2 separate regions of the Homo sapiens genome follow, and region 2 is linked to region 1. Evidence: promoter capture Hi-C in human tissues and cell types (Jung and others, 2019). All regions are on one chromosome and are shown on one strand. Each heading gives the region's core, a stretch centred on a gene start or on the middle of the fragment in contact. The rest is flanking DNA. Distances are from core to core; before and after follow the strand shown. Region 1 holds the start of GP5 (glycoprotein V platelet). Region 2 overlaps TMEM44 (transmembrane protein 44).

Region 1 (3,886 bases), core at 464-2,963:
GGTTTGGGAGCCGGTCGAAGGCCCCGGGTGCGATGGAACGGATGTGATTTCGGTGGAACTGCAGCTCCGTCAGGGCGCCCAGGCTGTTCAACAGCCCCGAATCCAGAGACACAAGGCGGTTCGAGTGGAGCAGAAGTCTCTCGAGCTTAGCCTGTGCTCCAAGCAACCCCTTGGGCAGGTGGGTCAGGTTGTTTCCCGATAAATCCAACAACTTCAGGTTCTCCAGATTCGTGAAGAGACTGGCAGGAAGGAAATCGAGCTGATTCTGGTTCAGAGCGAGCTCCTGCAGGTTAACCAGTTTCTGAAACATGTTTTGGTCAATGCCCCTTAGCGCATTGTGGTCCAAAAACAACTGCTCCAGGAGCACCATCTTATCCAGCAGCGCACCTGGAAGATGCGTGATTTTGTTGCGCGACAGCCTCAGGGTTTTCAGTTTTATCAGGTCACTGAAGGTGCCGGGGGCAACGGCGGAAATGTGGCTGTCGGAGATCATGAGGCGCTGCAGGACGGTCATGCCGCTGAAGCTCTGGCTCTGCAGGACGCCGCGGCCCATTCCGAAGAGCAGGATGTGCGTGAGGTTGGTGGGCAGGCCTAGCGCGGAGATGCGCGCCACGTCGCCCCCCGAGCACTGCGCGGCGTCCCGGAAGACACACTTGCAAGCTGGCGGACAGGGGAAGGGCTGGGCGCGCAGAAGCCCGAGCACCGCGCACAGTAGAGTCCCCCTCAGCATGTCTGAAAAAGCAACCGTGGGAGTGTGGTCAACACACAGGAGCGTTCGCGCCTGTACTGAACCCTGGGATCCTGCACTTTGTGCAGAGGCACAATCCTTTCGCCAGAATTCTCACTCCCTCTTTTCTTAGGACTACAGATTTCCCTACGTGGTGAAAAGACACTCATTCTACACTGCGTGGCCTCATGCTTTTGCTTTATTGATTTTCCACTCTCAGTTTAAAGCATTGAGATTACAGAGTTTTCAAGCTACCGAATAGCCAATACTTTAAAGTCCTTACATAGAGAATTAAAATAATCATTCTCACATTCAAGCTCACAGACATCACAAAGCAATGTCCATTGTGAAAACGGCTCTGCTCTTGACTTTATAACTTACCCTGCATTGGCTATAACCAACAGTCAAGAAGGGAACAGCAAAGTCTGCAGCCACCACCATCTGATTCTTTTGCTCACAATCATGCTATTTCCACAGTACCAAGTTACTCTATTAAAGGACACCCCCAAAACAGCGAACACCTTCAATCAACAGCCAACAAAAGCATATAATAATACCTATCACTTTACGCCATGCATTGTTCTCAGCTCTTTATTTATACTACATGCATTTAATCCTTACAATAACCTTAGGAGGTAAGTATATTATCCCCGATTCAAGGATGAAGGCACAGAGGCACAGAAAGGCTCAACAGTATAACTAGGGTCACATAGAATTTGAGGGTAGTATTTCTGACTTAGCCATAAAGAGCTACTATTTCTAAGATGCTTAACTAAAGGTAATACTCACGGCACTGAATTTTCTGGGAAATGCACACCATACTACTAACCTGCCAAAACAATGTTTCCTAAGCGAAATTTTACATAAATTGCTTCTCGTGCAATTTTACTTCTCATGCACACACAGACTAAAGAGCCCTCTAATTTCCTATACTAATGTTTAAAATATTTGGCCTTACCTGAAATGGTTCTGCACTCCAAAGTAACTGAAAGACTTAGAGCTCTGCATGTGATTCGACACTTTCCACAGGAAGAGGGTGGTATCCTTGCATCCTGAGGATAAAGACTTTACCAGAGTAGGTCAGGAAAGGACCCTATCTCAGAGCCCTTGTTCTGGTTTTTAATGACAAATATCTTCAAACCGAGAGACCATATATAACCTGATTCCTACTGTCAAAGCCAAGAGCAGTGGGGAGAGTTTTTCCATAAATGGCACAATATAACTCTATGATGCCAGGGAAGTTCAGTGATACAGCTGGATCACTGCAGTAGCCACACCCCTAGATGGGCCACACTTCCCCTGGGTCTTCCTTTTCATGCCACATGGCCCTAATTTCCCACCCAGGTTTTTTTTTTTTTTTTTTTTTTTTTTTTTTTTTTTTTTGGTATGTGTTGTTTTTCTTTCTCCGCTTAGCAATAAAGCTAAGAACATTCTCAAATCCTCCATTTTTTTCTTCCTTTTGGGACTAATAAGGCTAAGAACATCTTTGAACTTGTTCAACAATGGCATTGCTAGGTTGCAGGATGCTCACTTGTTGTTTTTTTGGTGGGGGAGGGGGACTCTGTCGCCCAGGCTGGGGTGCAGTGGTGCGATCTCGGCTCACTGCAACCTCCTGCTCCCTGGTTCAAGCAATTCTCCTGCCTCGGCCTCACAAGTAGCTGGGATTACAGGCACACACCATCACGCCCAGCTAATTTTTTGTATTTTAGTAGAGACGGGGTTTTACCGTGTTGCCCTGGCTGGTCTTGAACTCCTGAGCTCAGGCAATCCGCCCGCCTCGGCCTCCCAAACTGCTGGGATTACAGGCATGAGCCACCACGCCCGGCCGCTCACATGTTCAGTTTAACTGGGGAAAGTCAAACTGCTCTCCAAAGTGGTTGTGTTGGTCTACGATGACACCTGCCATTTGTGAGAGTTCCTGTGCTTCCTCTCTGCCCACACGTGGCACTTCCTGCTTTTTGCCATTTCTATGAAAGATATCTCAGCATGATTTTAACTTTTCCTTTCCCTGTTTAATGATGAACTTGAACACCTTTTCACATAATTAAGGCCCACTTGTGCTTCATTTGAGAAAGCTGGGTTTCCTTTTGCCCATTTGTCTATAGGCAAAACGTGTCTACGTGTCTTTTGAACACACTGATAATGCTGTCTGCATTAAGACTTCCGGCCAGCCGCCCTGTCCGGGAGGGAGGTGGGGGGGTCAGCCCCCCGCCCGGCCGGCCGCCCCATCCGGGAGGTGAGGGGCGCCTCTGCCCGGCCGCCCCTACTGGGAAGTGAGGACCCCTCTGCCCGGCCAGCCGCCCCATCCGGGAGGTGGGGGGCGCTTCTGCCCGGCCGCCCCTACTGGGAAGTGAGGAGCCCCTCTGCCCGGCCACGACCCCGTCTGGGAGGTGTGCCTAGCGGCTCATTGGGGATGGGCCATGATGACAATGGCAGTTTTGTGGAATAGAAAGGCGGGAAGGGTGGGGAAAAAATTGAGAAATCGGATGGTTGCCGGGTCTGTGTGGATAGAAGTAGACATGGGAGACTTTTCATTTTGTTCTGTACTAAGAAAAATTCTTCTGCCTTGGGATCCTGTTGATCTGTGACCTTATCCCCAACCCTGTGCTCTCTGAAACATGTGCTGTGTCCACTCAGGGTTAAATGGATTAAGGGCGGTGCAAGATGTGCTTTGTTAAACAGATGCTTGAAGGCAGCATGCTCGTTAAGAGTCATCACCACTCCCTAATCTCAAGTACCCAGGGACACAAACACTGCGGAAGGCCGCAGGGTCCTCTGCCTAGGAAAACCAGAGACCTTTGTTCACTTGTTTATCTGCTGACCTTCCCTCCACTGTTGTCCTATGACCCTGCCAAATCCCCCTCTGCGAGAAACACCCAAGAATGATCAATAAAAAAAAAAAAAAAAAAAAAAAAGACTTCTATCCTTCAAGACACCATAAAAAAGGGGAAAAGATAAACCACAAACTAAAGATATTTGTAACACCTATAGCTGACAAAGGCTTAATGTCAGAAGATATAAAGAATCATGGGATCCAATCCCCTTTGATGCAGCCTAATGCAGTCAGAGCCCAGTAAAGGCTGGGTTGACTGAAATTACCTTCAAAGTCACGCAGCCCTGGACCACAGGGAAGAGCCACTGCCTCTGCCAGGTATCGCG
Region 2 (4,028 bases), core at 1,129-3,628, 210 kb after region 1:
GTTTGAATCCTCTTTCTGTGATTTTTCTAACTGTAGGATCTTGGGCAAGTTACTTAACCTCTCTGTGCCTCAATTTAAAATAACATTATTAATTGTTAATAAAATAATAATAATAGATACAGGCCAGGCACGGTGGCTCACACCTGTAATCCCAGCACTTTGGGAGGCCGAGGCAGGCGGATCACTTGAGGTCAGGAGTTTGAGAACAGCCTGGACAACATGGCGAAACCCCTTCTCTACTAAAAATACACACACACAAAATAGCCAAGCATGGTGGCATATGCCCATAGTCTCAGTTATTTGGGAGGCTGAGGCATGAGAATCGAGAATCTCTTGAACACAGGAGGTGTGGGTCACAGTGAGCCGTGATTGTGCCACTGCACTCCAGCCTGGGCGACAGAGCGAGACTCTGCCTCAAAAAAAAAAAGGAAAGAATAAAAGAAAAAATAAAAATAAAACAAAATAGAAATAATAATAGTATCTCTCTGCTATGGTTTGGATGTGGTTTGTTTGGCCCCAGCGTGTCTCATGTTGAAATGTGATCCCAGTGTTGGAAGTGGGGCCTGGTGGGAGGTGTCTGGATCCTGGTGGAAGGGCCCTTCTGGTAAGTGAGCTCTCACTTTGTTCTGCAAGAACTGCTTGTTAGAAAGAGCCTGGCACCCCTTCCTCTCTCTCCTGCCATGTGAAGCCTGCTTGCCTTTGCCTTCCCCCATGAGTGGAGGCAGCCTGAGGCCTCACCAGTGCAGATGCTGGCACCACGTAAACATGCAGAACCACGAGCCACATAAACCTCTATTCTTTCTAAATTACCCAGCCTCAGGTGTTCCTTTATGGCAATGCAAAACACACTAGGATCCTTCCTCATACAGTTGTTGGGCTCATTTTTATTAACACTTACATGGTAAACAGTATTATTTTATTAATAATAAATCGCCATTTATCAAGTGTTTACTTGGTGTCATTATGCCAAGTACAAGGCTGTACAGCATAGAGGTCAATGGCACAAACTCGGGTAGAGACAGGTCTGAATCCGGTTCTATCACTGACAAACTGTGTGACCTTGAGCAGGTCACTTAACTGCTCCAGCCCCCAGTTTCCTTATCTGTAAAATGAGTATAATACTCAGGAGTCGGCTGTGGGGCAAGTTAATGTGTGTAAAGCACTTAGACCAGTACTCTGGCCCATAAGTACCACGTAAGTGTTGGCTGCTGTTGTTTACTCAGAGCCTGGCAAGTCCCTAACCCTCAGTAGACAGGCTATGATGGGAGGGGTGCCCCTAGTGCTGAGGGAGGCACCTGCCAGCCCAGCTGGACAGTGGGGCTCGGGGCTCCCTCTAGCCCTCTGATGGACACAGAAGGAAAAAGCTGGGTGGAAGCTCAAAGACGCACTTGTGGGCTTCAGTGGGAGGGAATGAAGGTGGAACACACTCTTCTTTCATGGAGTCTGTTCCCCAACAAGAATCCCTTCGACACTGAGCTACTGGAAGGGTTAAAGTGAATACAACTTTTACACATTCTCCTTCAGAAGTCCCATGATGTAGAACTTCCCAGTGCAAAGCTTTGGCCAGATGCTGCAGGAACTCCCGTGCCTTCCCAAGGGTTCCCCACACACCCTGCCTCCTCCCTCCCTTCGGAAGGATGGTTTAATGGCTGAAGTGGGCTCTTAGCTACAAAGGCATGCTCTGAATCTCTCTGAACTTCACTTAGGTCATACACAAGGTTCTGTGCACCCAGTATACAAGGAGCAACAACAGCAAACAGCAAAACCTCTCTCTCAGCCGAGTCTCTCCGGGCACCGGTGTGTCTGGGCAGCCTGGCAGGGGCCCTCACCACTGGACCATATATTCAAAACACACCTTTACTGAGAGCCCAGGACTGCAAGGTTATAGGCACCAGGAGTCAACGAGACAGGAGATAAAGTTTACATCTCAGCAGGACACAGACAAACCAAAGTAAAAGATCGTGATAAGTGCTTTGCAGAGAATTTCAATAGGTAATAAAATAGAGGAGAAGGACAGACGGGTCCTGCTTCGGACTGGGTGGTTAGGGAAGAGCTCTGGAGAAGCAGACATTTACGTTGAAGCTGGAAAGACAAGAAAGAGGCAGCTGTGAAAAATCAGGAGGGAGAGCATTCTGGGCAGAGGAATGGAGAGAAACTCTGTGCAGCTAGACAGGAGTGAACAGGAGACGAGAGATGGGGTCTCGCTATGTGGTCCAGGCTGGTCTCGAACTCCTGGCCTCAAGCGATACTCCTACCTCAGGTTCCCAAAGTATTAGGATTACAGGTGTGGGCCACCAAGAGCTCTGGCCCAGAGGAGTGTTTTAAACAAAGGAGGAACAAGATGTCATTTACATTTGTGAATGATCCCTCTGGCTGCTCGTTAGAGATGGGCAGGGCAGGACCACAGAAGAAGTGGAGAGGATGACAGCCAGGAGGCTGCTGGACTCAAGACCTAGTTTAAATAAGGAAGCATTTACAGGACTCTCAAAAGGAATGGATGGGCATGGGGGTGTGGCCAGGGAAAGAGGAATTTTGGGCTTGAACCACTGCAAAGACAGTGCGTCATTTACTAAGATGAGGAAGATGGGGAGAGGAGCCGGTCTGGGCATGGAAATCCAGAATTCTGTGTTGGACGAGGTAAGCGTGAGATGCCATATGGTGACAGCTGAATGGGCAGCTGGGCAGCCGAGATGGGAACTGAGGGGAGGGGAAAGGACGGAGACACGAATGGGGGAAGTCAGCAAGAACTGGTGTGCAGAGCGAGGGGACTGTGGGACTGCAGGGCCCACCAGGAGCAGGGAGCCTGCCTGGGACAGGGCGTTGGACTCCCTCTCTACAGTCAAGCTTACCCAGAGGAGCCAGCAGAGGCCGAGGGGAAAGAAGAGCCTGTGAGGGTGGCAGGAAACACAGAAGAGTGGGGGCCACAGACGCCAGGAGCAGCTGGTGGCCGAGTGCGTGGACTCTCAGAATGGAATGATGGTGGACTTAGCAGCTTGGAGGTCATCGGTGACCTCGACAAGACAGTCTTGGTGGAATAGTGGGACATGGGGTGAACTTCTCGTCACCTCTTTCCCAATTCTCTTCCTCCTGAGGACCCCTCGTGTAGGCCAGAACTCAGGGAGTCACCCGGAGCCCTGCCTCCCTCACCCGCACCTCCTCACCCCTCCAGCGCTCCACTTCCCAACTCGCTCAACTCTGTCTCTGCTTCTCCGTCTGCTCCAACCTCAGTTTAGGCCACACTTCCTTTTCCTCGGGCTTCCAACTGGCCCTGACTGACTGCTCGGCTGCTACTCTCCTCTCCCCCAGGCCACCCGCAACAACTTCCCCAGATGGCTCTAAAATGCACATCTGACCCTGAGTCTCCAGTACTCAAGCCTCCTGACTCCCATCACTCTCAAGATGATAGACACGGCCGGACGCAGTGGCTCACACCTGTAGTCCCAGCACTTTGGGAGGCCGAGGCCAGCAGATCACGAGGTCAAGAGATCGAGACCAGCCTGGCTAACATGGTGAAACCCCGTCTCTAGTAAAAATACAAAAATTAGCTGGGCGTGGTGGCAGGCTCCTGTAGTCTCAGTTTCTCTGGAGGCTGAGGTAGGAGAATCACTTGAACCCGGGGGGCTGCAGTGAGCTGAGATCATGCCACTGTACTCCAGCCTGGGCGACAGAGTGTCTCAAAAAAAAAAAAGAGAGAAAAAGATGATAGACTCCGTGTCTAAACGACCCGACCCCTGCCTCCTCCAGCCCTTTCATCTCCCCTCACTCCTAAATGGTACCAGCATATACCACCCCGAAATATGCCTCTTTAGCATATGGATTCCTTAGATCTAAAGGTCTTTGAAAACCAGCAGAAGCAGAAGCTATTAACCTCCCCTAACTGCCTGAAAAGAGAGTACACATTTTCCCTTTCATAAAGGAAATTTCCATTTGTAAAGATATTTCTGCACCAGGAAGAGAGCTACTTCCACCCGAGAGACTCTCACCTGCATAGCAAGAAAACCCTTATTTCCCACACAGGTCCTCCCTCA

The links. Contacts are between HindIII fragments. The study calls those that stand out against the background at their distance.
Region 2: a contact is called between a fragment that was not itself captured here and the fragment with the promoter of GP5 in region 1, in 3 of the 25 tissues and cell types used here (IMR-90 fibroblasts, bladder and stomach).

Annotation. Positions count from the first base shown.
Region 1 is chr3:194,397,553-194,401,438 of GRCh38, forward strand. GP5 (glycoprotein V platelet) reads right to left here and starts at 1,714. Exons shown (of 2, transcript NM_004488.2): 1 at 1,686-1,714; 2 at 1-732. The coding sequence starts at 730. RefSeq lists enhancers at 2,544-3,097, 3,098-3,650. The HindIII fragment of the contact is 10,737 bases long and covers 1-3,886 here.
Region 2 is chr3:194,606,537-194,610,564 of GRCh38, forward strand. The region is part of intron 8 of TMEM44 (transmembrane protein 44); the gene reads right to left. It overlaps LOC105374291 (a long non-coding RNA gene), which reads left to right. Exons shown (of 4, transcript XR_007096222.1): 4 at 1-463. Among named protein-coding and RNA genes, the nearest start is that of TMEM44-AS1, 24 kb to the left of the region's middle. The HindIII fragment of the contact is 4,521 bases long and covers 119-4,028 here.